3 separate regions of the Homo sapiens genome follow, and regions 1 and 3 are each linked to region 2. Evidence: promoter capture Hi-C in human tissues and cell types (Jung and others, 2019). All regions are on one chromosome and are shown on one strand. Each heading gives the region's core, a stretch centred on a gene start or on the middle of the fragment in contact. The rest is flanking DNA. Distances are from core to core; before and after follow the strand shown.

Region 1 (3,268 bases), core at 277-2,776, 38 kb after region 2:
GCGTTGGCTTGCCGGGGGCGGGGGGGTCTCCCTCCTGCGGTCTCCCAAGCCCTGACTGTGACTTTACTCGCAGCTCTGTGACTTTGCTTCTTTGACCTTCGGAACCCTCAGTTTCCTTATCTATAAATAGTTCTAATGATACCTGCCTTGCCTGTTTGAGGGGGAGGGATCTGAGAATCAAATAAAAGAATCTAAGGAAAATGTGCTTTGAAAGTAGGTAGCACTGGCAGGATCCGGGTGGCTGTCTCCATTTGCTTTCAGTAGGGTAAGAAAACGGCTCCTGGCTGCCTTTCTGGAAAGAGAAGCGAGCATCCCACCTCCCAACACTCTGGACGGCCCAATACACTTTCTGCGATGGTGGAAATGATCTAGGTCTGTGCTGTGCGAAATAGTAGCCATTAACCACGTGTAGCTATTGAGCACTTAAAATATGGCCAGTGCAACAGAGGAACTGAATTCTTGATGTATCTAATTTTAAGGAGTTTAAATTTAAGTAGCCACATGTGGCTGGTGGCTACTGTATTAGACAACACAGCTCTGGACTGTCAATACGGATATTGTTTTCTTCAATACTACGTATGGTTTTGTCCCAGAGCCACAGACATTTCAGGTTTATTCCTTTTTTAACAAAGACCAACTGAGCAGCAGTGATTCTTCTCAGCCGTGTCATCATCCCTTTTTGGTCCCAACTTGGACTCAAATCATTCTTAGCTTAACCCTACAGGACCCTTTTAAACAGGACTTAGGCTCTGTCCAGAGACTAGCAAAGGGTGGTCCTGGGAAGGAGTCATCTAGAATGTGGAAAGTTCACATGCATCTCATTGGGATATAATTTCATCTCTTGTTTGATGCTTTAGAAGGAGGCCAGGAGCTTTCAGCATCTTGGTAACCTCATGTCTGGGGTTCCTGATGTGGAACCTGTCCTCAGACCCTAACGCAAGAATTTTTAAATGAAGTGCTCCCCAGGAGAGACTGAGGAGGCAACGGAAGTGGTAGGGTGGAGCAGGGGGGAAGCCGAGTGAAAGCACCATCTCAGGCCAAGTCCTGCAAAGGCAATTTCAGCCTATAGTTGTCCCCAGCCAGGCTGTCACACTTAGCACCTGTCAGTTACTGGTGGAGGATGCTCTGCAGGGCATGGGACTTCACTTCCTGGGCTCCCCACCTTGTGCATAGCCACCCTGGCAGCCCTAGTGCAGACCCTGAAGAAGGGCTGCAGGTGCCCGAAAAGTCAGACGTGTAGCTTCAGGTGACGCTTTTCTGCCTCCAGAGCAGAGTCCCTGCGTCCCGGCCAGCAGGTGGGAAGCAGCTCCCCCGAGCCTTCCAGGGAATGTTGTCACCCTTTGACGATGGGAAACTGAGGCTTGTAAAATGTAAGTGCTTTGTCTGGGGGTTTCTTAGTGGGTATGGTGTGGCCAAGTCAGGATCCAAATTTGTGCCTGTCTTTCTGCTGTGCTTTGCTTTCTGACCACATTGTCACCATGAAAACTCCGAGGCAAGATGGAGCCCTGTGCCCCATGCCCAGAGACTTCCACCTAGGCCTTGGTGTGACATTTGGGGTAAAGGGCCTTTCTAAAAATAATACGGAAGGAGTGGGTTGTTTACTTGCAAAATACAAATTTGTGGTATAATTTCAGGACACTTTCAGACCACTCTTCTAAGCTTGTCTAAGAATCTCAGGTTAAGACTCCTCTAAATTAGGGGTAAAAAAACTTTCTGTAAAAGGCGAGATAGTGTATCTTAGGCTCTGCAGGCCATACAGACTTCCATGGACAAGGTGTAAACAAATAGGTGTGTCTGTGTTTCAGTAAAACTTTATTTATAAAACAGGTGGTGGGCCAGATTTGGCCTTCAGATCAGTGTCAACCACTGGTCTAAGTTGACCCTGAACCCCTCTGCAAAGTGATTACAACAAATTAGACAGAGCACGTTCTACCTGATGAAGCATTCATGAGGGCCCCGTCATGTTTGTTTTGAGACAGGGTCTTGCTCTGTCACCCAGGCTAGAATGCAGTGGCATCATCATAGCTCACTGCAGCCTCAAACTCCTGGGCTCAAGCCATCCTCTTGCCTCAGCCTCCCAGTGCAAGTCCCAAGTAGCTGGGACTACAGGTGTGCAGCACCATGCCCAGATAATTTTAAAATTTTTTGTCGCACTATTTTTTGTCTCACTATCCCAGCAAATTTTTTTTTTTAGACGGAGTCTCACTGTATCTCCCAGGCTACGGTGCAGTGGCACGATCTCGGCACACTGCAACCTCTGCCTCCCGGGCTCAAGCGATTCTGTTTCTCCTGCCTCAGCCTCCCAAGTAGCAGGGACTACAGGCATGTGCCACCATACCTGGCTACTTTTTTGTATTTTTAGTAGAGATAGGGTTTCACCATATTAGCTAGGCTGGTCTCGAACTCCTGACCTTGGGTGATCTGCCCGCCTAGGCCTCCCAAAATGCTGGGATTACAGGCATGAGCCACTGCACCCAGCTTACTTATCCCAGCTAATTTTTTAACTTTCTGTCTTGCTATGTTGCCCAGGCTGGTCACAGACTCCTGGGCTCAAGCTATCCTCCTGCCTTGGCCTCCCAAAGTGCTGGGATTACAGGTGTGAGCCACTGCACCCAGCCTCATCACCTGTTAATTAAGTGCCCCCATGAGAGAAAGCAATCTATTGAGCATCAACTAGGTGCTGGGGCTCTGCTGGGCGTTTAATATATACCATTGGGAGCATTCTCCCTTCCCAAGGTCACGAGCTCTCACAAGCAAAGATGAGCTCATTACGTTCAGTCAGCTCACACTGGCTCTCCATGTCAAGTCATTCTCATTTTTGTTTGTCAGCTTCCTGTTGTTGTTACCAAAGTCACATGTAGTTAAGTGTCTCGGTGAGCTGGGAATCAGTCTGCATTTACTTGGTGATGATTTAATGAATGTCCAATTTCCAGTAGATTATAAGCGTCATGAGGACAGGGTCCATCCTGTCCCCAGTGCTAGCATGGTGCATGGCACACAGCAGGCTCTTAACAGATGTGTATTGAGCGAATCAGTGAGTGGATTCGCAGCTGAATGAGGAGGAGTCATCAAGGCAGCGAGGGTGGGTGGGCACAGTTCTGCATGTGGCCCCCTCTCGTTGCTTCTCAAAGGCACTGGGCTGCCCTAAAGCTGGCAAGTATGCGGACCTTCTGCGCAGCCGTGCGTCTGCAGCCCTGGTGGGAACAGAAGGCCTGGCAGATCTGGGGAGGGGACCAAGGGCCAGGACAGAAAAAGGGTGGAATGCAGC
Region 2 (3,667 bases), core at 902-3,401:
ACAGGGCAATTACACTTACATCAAAGAGTTGTGAGACCTGAATTAAAATGCGGTGTAAATAACATTTGTAAGTGGCAATGAGCTCCATGTGTAAACATCAGGAGCTGTTGTCAAATGTAAAGATTGTGCTGAGCAAAATACCACGACTTGTTTTAGCCGGACAGGCATTAAAATATCCAGTGTTATTTTGACCTCAGCTGACCAATAGCTGCTCCATTTCTCCAAACTGTAGATGAGTCACCTAGGAAGTCCCTACCCCTTCATCTTCTTGCCATCCTCCCTCCATCCTATCCCACCCCCAGTGAGATATCCTCTTGTTCCCTTTTCTACCCAGCATCCAGAGTTCTGTCTGGCCCCCAGCAGGTGCCCATGGAGGCTACATATGGAATGAAGGAATGAAGGATTGAATAAATGTCTCCATTTCTTTGCACAAAGAGTTACCAATGCTTGAGATGTTCCCCTACTCCCAGGAAGTCACCCTCTCCTGGGAGCCTTTACTCAACCCGCCCTCCATTCCTGTCTTCCCCTTTCTCGGGGCAGCTGTGTGTGACATGCCAGTGCACAGTGGAATGGTTGGTTTTATCCATCTCCCTGACAGGCCCCTGAATTCTTAGGGGGGAAGGAACAAGGTCTCATTCACATTTGTCCCTGCATCTTGCTGGTTGAGGTGCAATCTGCAGCCTCGGGGCGGCGCTCTGGCATGAAGGAGGCCGCTAAGACGTTGTTCTGAAAGCTGGCTTGCAAGGTAGTTTATACTCTGCAAACCAGCGTTTATAGTGTGTGTTTACATGAGTGGCTTAAGGGTGTCCAAATACCGGGAAAAGGTGCTCAGTAAATGTTTCTTCCATGCATGCACTGTAGTATCTGACCCTCAGCTCTGTGTCTTAAGCCCCTGGTTCTCTCATCCAACCTAAAAATAGGATTGTCCAGGCCTTGAGGGCCTTCTGGAAGGCGCCCCCATCAGTCAAAGCGCTTGCAAAGTGCTTCCACCACAAGAGCAGAGAGGCCGCGCCATGCCTGTGATGCTGCTAGGCACAGCTTGTCTGAAAGAGATGCAACCAGGCTACCTCCCGAAGAACCGACTTGTTGATAATCTTGCCTCAAACAGAGGAGTTTGCAGATGGTTGAGGAAGAGCAGTGGTAGAAATGTTCTCCCCAGGGCCGTCACAACTCCTTCCCAGCCGCAGCCTAGTGTTGCAAGAGAGTTTCTGCTGCTGGGACTACAAAGGAGAGGACAAGGCCCATGGCCGGGAGAGGGGCGGCCTGCACCTTTCAGCCCCGGCGCCCGGGAGAGCCTGCGGGGAGTGCGGCGGGGAGAGTCCTCAAGGATGGAGCGCAAAAAAGGGTCTCAAGTCAGTCCTCGCCACCTTTCCGCAGCCTCGGGAGAGGCTTGGGGGAAGCGCAGGCAAGGGCCAAAACCCCATGGAAGTGGGAATCCTCGGCCTCCAGGGTGAATAAATAATTAAGCGCCCAATACACAATAGCCTCGCTAGATGGAGACGAGGAATCACTGCAGCGGCGCTGGCGGCGGCGGCGGGGGGAGCGCAACCCCGGGCGGGAGGCGGGAGAGGCTCTGGCTCGGCTCACGTCTGTTTTCCTTTTTCGTGGATTATTTATTTCGCCTCCACCCACGGCTTTGCTGCCCCAGCGGGAGCTCCCTGCCGGCGCCTCCCGCCGCTGCCTCTCGCGGGCCAGCGTGAGGGTAGTAGAGAGCTCGGGCACCCCAGTGCCCCGGGCAGCCGCGCGGCGCCACCAGGAAAGGCGGGGAGCCAACGCGGGCCCGGGGAGGGCTCGCGCGGCCGGCTCCAGGCGGCGTGGAGGAGACTTTCCCCGCCCTCTGCCTCCGCCTCGGCGGCCAGCCCTGGCCCTGGGAGCGGGGTGCCGCCCCTCCCGCCCCGCGCGCGGCTAGGCGCAGTCCGGAGCCACCGCGCCCTGCGCCCCGTGCGAGGACGCCGCTCCTGGTCCTCTGCTCAGCGGCCCGGGAGGCCCAACCGGCGCGCAAACTTTTGCTCCAGCGCCGGGCGCTCCTCCCCGGCATGTGAAGCCCCCGGGCGCCCGCGCAGCCGCCAAGGTGAGGACGGAGGCCCCGCCTAGAGGGCGGGGGACTGGGGAGGCGGCTGGCTTTAAATGGGGGCTGTCCGGCTGCTGGGAAACAGAGCTGCCGCGGGGGGAACGCGGACCTCTTTTCCCCGAGCCCAGGGTCGGCTGGGGCCGCCGCCAGGCAAGGTAGCGTGAGGCGTTGGAAGGGTGCGGGCGGAGATGGAGGCGTGGGGGAACCCACGCCCGGGAGCGGGAGATCGGGGCTGGGCGGAGGCGTGCAAAGGGGCAGCGCACGGAGGTGCCTATGTTGCAGTGTGCGCAATGAGGCCGGCTGGGCAGTGTGGGTGCAGGCAGCGTGAGATTTCTTGGGGCCGTGCATGCAGGGTCAGCGAGGGTGCAGGCAGGAGTCGGTGGGTGTGCACGGGGATCAGTGTGTGTGCACGGCTGTTTCTGTGGTTGTGCGCGCAGGTGAGTAGTGCCCGCCGGGTTTGAAGTGTGCTCACAGTGAGAGTGAGTTGTATGGGGGTTAATGGGGCGCAGTAAGTGTGCTTGGCTGTTTCTGGAGGTGTCCATGGGGCCAAGGTATGCACGCAGTATTCTGGAGCTGTGCGCGGAGCTAAAGTGTACACGCGGGGCTCTGGGGATGTGCGTAAGAAGAGTGTGAATTCTGGGACTGACGAAGAGTCAGTGAAGGTGTAAGCTGGAGTGTAAGTGCAGGCTTGGTTTACTAGGGTGCCCCTGGGTGCGGGGCGTGCCCGTCCGACCCGGGCTGGGAGGTATATTGGTGCGCGGCGGCGGAAGTGCCTGCGCGGTGTCCGCCTGACCCTAGCCTTGCTCTCCTGACAGTTCGCCCCAGGAGCGGGCGCCGCTGGCCGAGATGCTCCTCCGGGACTTGGTGCTGCGCCGTGGCTGCTGCTGGTCCTCGCTGCTGCTGCACTGCGCGCTCCACCCGCTCTGGGGCTTCGTGCAGGTGAGACGCGCCGGCTGCGCACTGGCTGGGAGGGCCTCCTGGGTAAGGGGCGAGCTGTCCCTTCCCTCCTGAGACCCTGGCCTCTTGCAGCCACCCCACTGATTGGTTCTCGGAAGAGCTTGGGAAAAGAAAAGCTGCTACGGTCCCCTATACCCTACCCCTGAAAAGATAAGAAACTCCAAAGAGAGGCTTCGATTGTGGCCTAAATCCTGCAGGACCGGGCTGGCCTTGGAATGGAAAGGGGCTCAGAGAATACCTTCCAATGATAACATTCTAGGGCAGAAATTCAGCAAAGAAACAAACTTACAAAGAAAAATGATCCCAAGGATATATATTATTTCTTTCTCACCAGAACCACTGATGAACTTCAAATTAGCTTTCTTAAACTGGTTTTCAACACGGAAGGCAGCCGTGTTTCTTATAGGTATCAGAGTTGAGGATGTAGACAGATAATGCATGGTGGCCCATCTGTCAGGACTGCCCAGGGTTGAATCTCTCACCCTGGGTCCCTTAAATCCCAGGGCAGAGGCCAGGCAGCCACTAACTGGAGTTACCTCTTAGGGTCAGAGAGGGGTTTCAATGGGGTGGTCCCTAGTCCCCCCCAGAATGCGCATCGTCACTGGTACAGTGGAGAGGTGACAAGGTGGACTTCGATGT
Region 3 (3,261 bases), core at 166-2,665, 53 kb before region 2:
TCTACAAATTGTGCAGCATCTATCTTCTACCTGCCCTTTCTCCAATCACAGACCCATCACTCAACCCCATGCCCCAGGAAAGAGCAATGTCAGCAAGACAAACCTCTCAGAGATTTGGGAAGCGCCACCCCCTTCGTGGTTTAATGCTGGATGTTTATGACAATGAGGTGAGCCCAAATAAGGCCCCAGTAGAAATTTGACTATGGACTCAGTACCAGGCCATATTAGGGAATTATAATTAATTTTGTTAGATGTGATAATAACATGGAGGTTAAATAAGAAAATATCCACACACTCCCCTCTTTTTTGAGACGCACATGGAAGTATTTATGAGTGCAATGACATCAAGTTTGCAATTTGCTTTGAAATACTCTAGGGGAAACTGAGGGTAAGGTAGGGATAAAGCTGGCATGGCAAAATTTTGATGGTTGTTGAAGCTGGGTGCTGGGCTCAGGGCAGCTTACTCTTCTCTCTACTTTTGTATGTTTGAAAATCTTATAAAAATACAACATAAATGTAAAATAAATTATAAATAAGTAACAAAATAGTGTCCCTGGGAAGCTGCCTAAGGTCCTGTGGAGTTAGTCAGTGGAAACAGAGGGTGCTAAAAATAACCAAGAGATTTATATGGTTTCTCCCATGACATCTTTGGTAATTTATCATGGATACTCACATCTACTCAGTTTGCTCTCCAGACGTCCTGGATGGAGCTTGGTCTCAAGGAGAGAAAGGAATGCTGCCACTCTTATTTGAACAAGTTCTCTTTCAACTTCTGATCATGGCATGGGAAGGAAGTACCTTTCCCTGACCCCTCTCTGCGGGGTTCAGTTTCTCCATAGGACATTAAGTGTAACAAGAACTGCTGAGTCCCTCATAAGGTCCTTGCAAGAATCAGAGAAAATGCTAAGACTAAAAGCACTTTTTAAAAAACCATGTTCAAAAATGAACTGTGCTCGGTGTACAAAATTTAGAAACAAAGATAATCAAAAGAAAGAAAATAGAAATCATGCACAATACTTCCCGCCTGCCCATGTAACTATTGTTGTGATTTGAGGTGTAAACTTTCAAGTTTGTTGTTGTTGTTGTTCACCATATAGGTGGTTTTGTTTTGTTTTTTTTTTTGATTTACAAAAATGGGCTCAAATTGTGTAGTCTTATTTTTTACCATAACACGTCATGAACGTCGTTTGATATTATCATACATTTTTCCACAATATTGTTTCGTATTTTCATCATTGCTATGTTTTCCATCATGTGACTATAGGATAATTTATTTAACCCATCTCATTGTATCAGTTTTCTAGGGCTACCATAACAAAGCACTGCAAACTGGGTGGCTTACAAAAGAAAAAAATGCGTTTTCTTGCAGTTCTGGAGGCCAGCAGTTCAAAATCAAGGATTGGTTCCTTCTGGGGGCTCAAAAGGAGAATCTGTTCCAAGCATGTCACTCCCCTAGCTTCTGGGGTTGCCAGCCATCCTTGGCTCATGGCGGCATAATTTCAGTCTCTGCCTCTATCATCTCGTGACTGTCTTCTCTGTGTGTCTCTGTGTTTCTTTCTCCAATTTTTTTTTTTGGGGGGGGGTGAGAGGGAGGGGAGACAGGGTCTTACTCTGTCACTCAGGCTGGAGTGCAGTGGCGCCATCATGGCTCACTGTAGCCTCAGGTGATCCTCCCATCTCAGCCTCCTGAGTAGCTGGGATTACAGGCACACGCCACGATGCCTGGCTAATTTTTGTATTTTTGTCGAGATGGGGTTTTGCTATGTTGCCCACGCTGGTCTGAAGCTCCTGGTCTCAAGCAATCCTCCTGCCTTGGCCTCCCAAAGTGCTGGGATTTCAGACATGAGCCACTGTGCCTGGCCTTCTTCAATTCTTATAAGGACACTAGTCATATTGGATTAAGGTTCTATGCTACTCTAGTACAACCTCATCTTAAGTAATTATGTCTGCAGTGACTCTAATTCCAAATAAGTTCACATTCTGAAGCTTTAGAGGTTAGAACTTCAACATATCCATTTGGGGGACACAAACCCAAAACTTACTCACATTGTCAGGCTTTTAGGGTATTTTGGTTGACATTTTTGCTATTAATAAATTAGGTCACATTTTTTTTTAACACATCCATGATTGTTTTCTTAAAATAAGTTCCTAGAAGTAGAATTTCTAGATACAGACTGTATCATCAGCCAGAATTTGGCCAGGAAAAGGAAAATCAGAGGTCTTTTCAAAGAGAGAGGATTTAATATACGGAATTGACTGTGCAGGTGTTGAGAAGATGCAAAGTAGGCTGGGTGTCGTGGCTCACACCTGTAATCCCAGAACTCTGGGAGGCCAAAGCAGGCGAATTGCTTGAGTACAGGAGTTTGAGACCAGCCTGGGCAACATAGTGAAACCCAGTCTCTACTAAAAATAATAATAATTTAAAACAAAATTAGTCAGGTGTGGTGGCGCTTGCCTGTAGTCCCAGCTACTCAGGAGGCGAGAGGATCACCTGAGCCTGGGAAGCCGAGGCTGCAGTGAGCCAAGATCACATCACTACACTCCAGCCTGGGTGAGAGACAGAGAGAGAGAAGAGACAAGATAGAAAGCAAAAGATGAAGAGGTAACCCAGAGATTAATAATTGCAAGAAGGAGCTGCCATTCCCAGGTTTGGGGGAAAAAAGAAAAAAAGACATGGAGCGTCCAGAACTTAGGCATGTGAAGGAGGAGGCTCCCTAAGGCTCATGCTCAGACCTTCAGGGCAGGACACTGCAAGATCTGTGCTTGGAACTCTCAGGGGGCGCCTGCGGCCACGCTCAGACATCTGAGAGGAGGGCACTGACCTCTGAGGCAGCACCACATGCCTGGTGCTTGGGGTGCAGGTGGCATGGCTGCTGCTGGAGGGATGCAGACCTCAGTCAGAAATCAAAACAGAGTCCCTTCTCCCCTCCTCTCACCATTCAATCTCCACCATTGCCTCCCATTAGCAAACTGGAAGCCAGCAAGGTATCTGGAAAATGAAGTTTGCAGACTTCTAGCCCCTGCATTACCGAACAGAAATGGTGTGGGCAGGAGGTATGAAGATGAGAGGCAACAAATAAACAACTGTCCTGAAGGCTTTTGATATGCATTCTTCCATTGTCTTCCAGAAAGGCTCGATCAACTTACACTGACACCAGCAGGCCATGGAAATGCCAGTTCCTAAATCTCAATAACACTGAAGGTTATGATTTTAAATTTTGTTTTCAGTTTGACAGGAAAAAATTATACTTTGATTTGCTT

The links. Contacts are between HindIII fragments. The study calls those that stand out against the background at their distance.
Region 1: a fragment that was not itself captured here is called in contact with the fragment with the promoter of PRIMA1 in region 2 in 1 of the 25 tissues and cell types used here (dorsolateral prefrontal cortex).
Region 3: a contact is called between a fragment that was not itself captured here and the fragment with the promoter of PRIMA1 in region 2, in 2 of the 25 tissues and cell types used here (spleen and thymus).

What each region holds. Positions count from the first base shown.
Region 1 is chr14:93,749,111-93,752,378 of GRCh38, reverse strand. The region is part of intron 3 of PRIMA1 (proline rich membrane anchor 1); the gene reads left to right. Among named protein-coding and RNA genes, the nearest start is that of PRIMA1, 38 kb to the left of the region's middle. RefSeq lists an enhancer at 2,739-3,268. The HindIII fragment of the contact is 8,916 bases long and covers 1-3,268 here.
Region 2 is chr14:93,786,969-93,790,635 of GRCh38, reverse strand. It overlaps PRIMA1 (proline rich membrane anchor 1), which reads left to right and starts at 2,151. Exons shown (of 5, transcript NM_178013.4): 1 at 2,151-2,226; 2 at 2,887-3,010. The coding sequence starts at 2,918. RefSeq lists enhancers at 648-1,359, 1,360-2,073, 2,074-2,785. The HindIII fragment of the contact is 12,037 bases long and covers 1-3,667 here.
Region 3 is chr14:93,840,006-93,843,266 of GRCh38, reverse strand. No RefSeq gene overlaps it. Among named protein-coding and RNA genes, the nearest start is that of PRIMA1, 53 kb to the right of the region's middle. RefSeq lists an enhancer at 2,859-3,261. The HindIII fragment of the contact is 6,425 bases long and covers 1-3,261 here.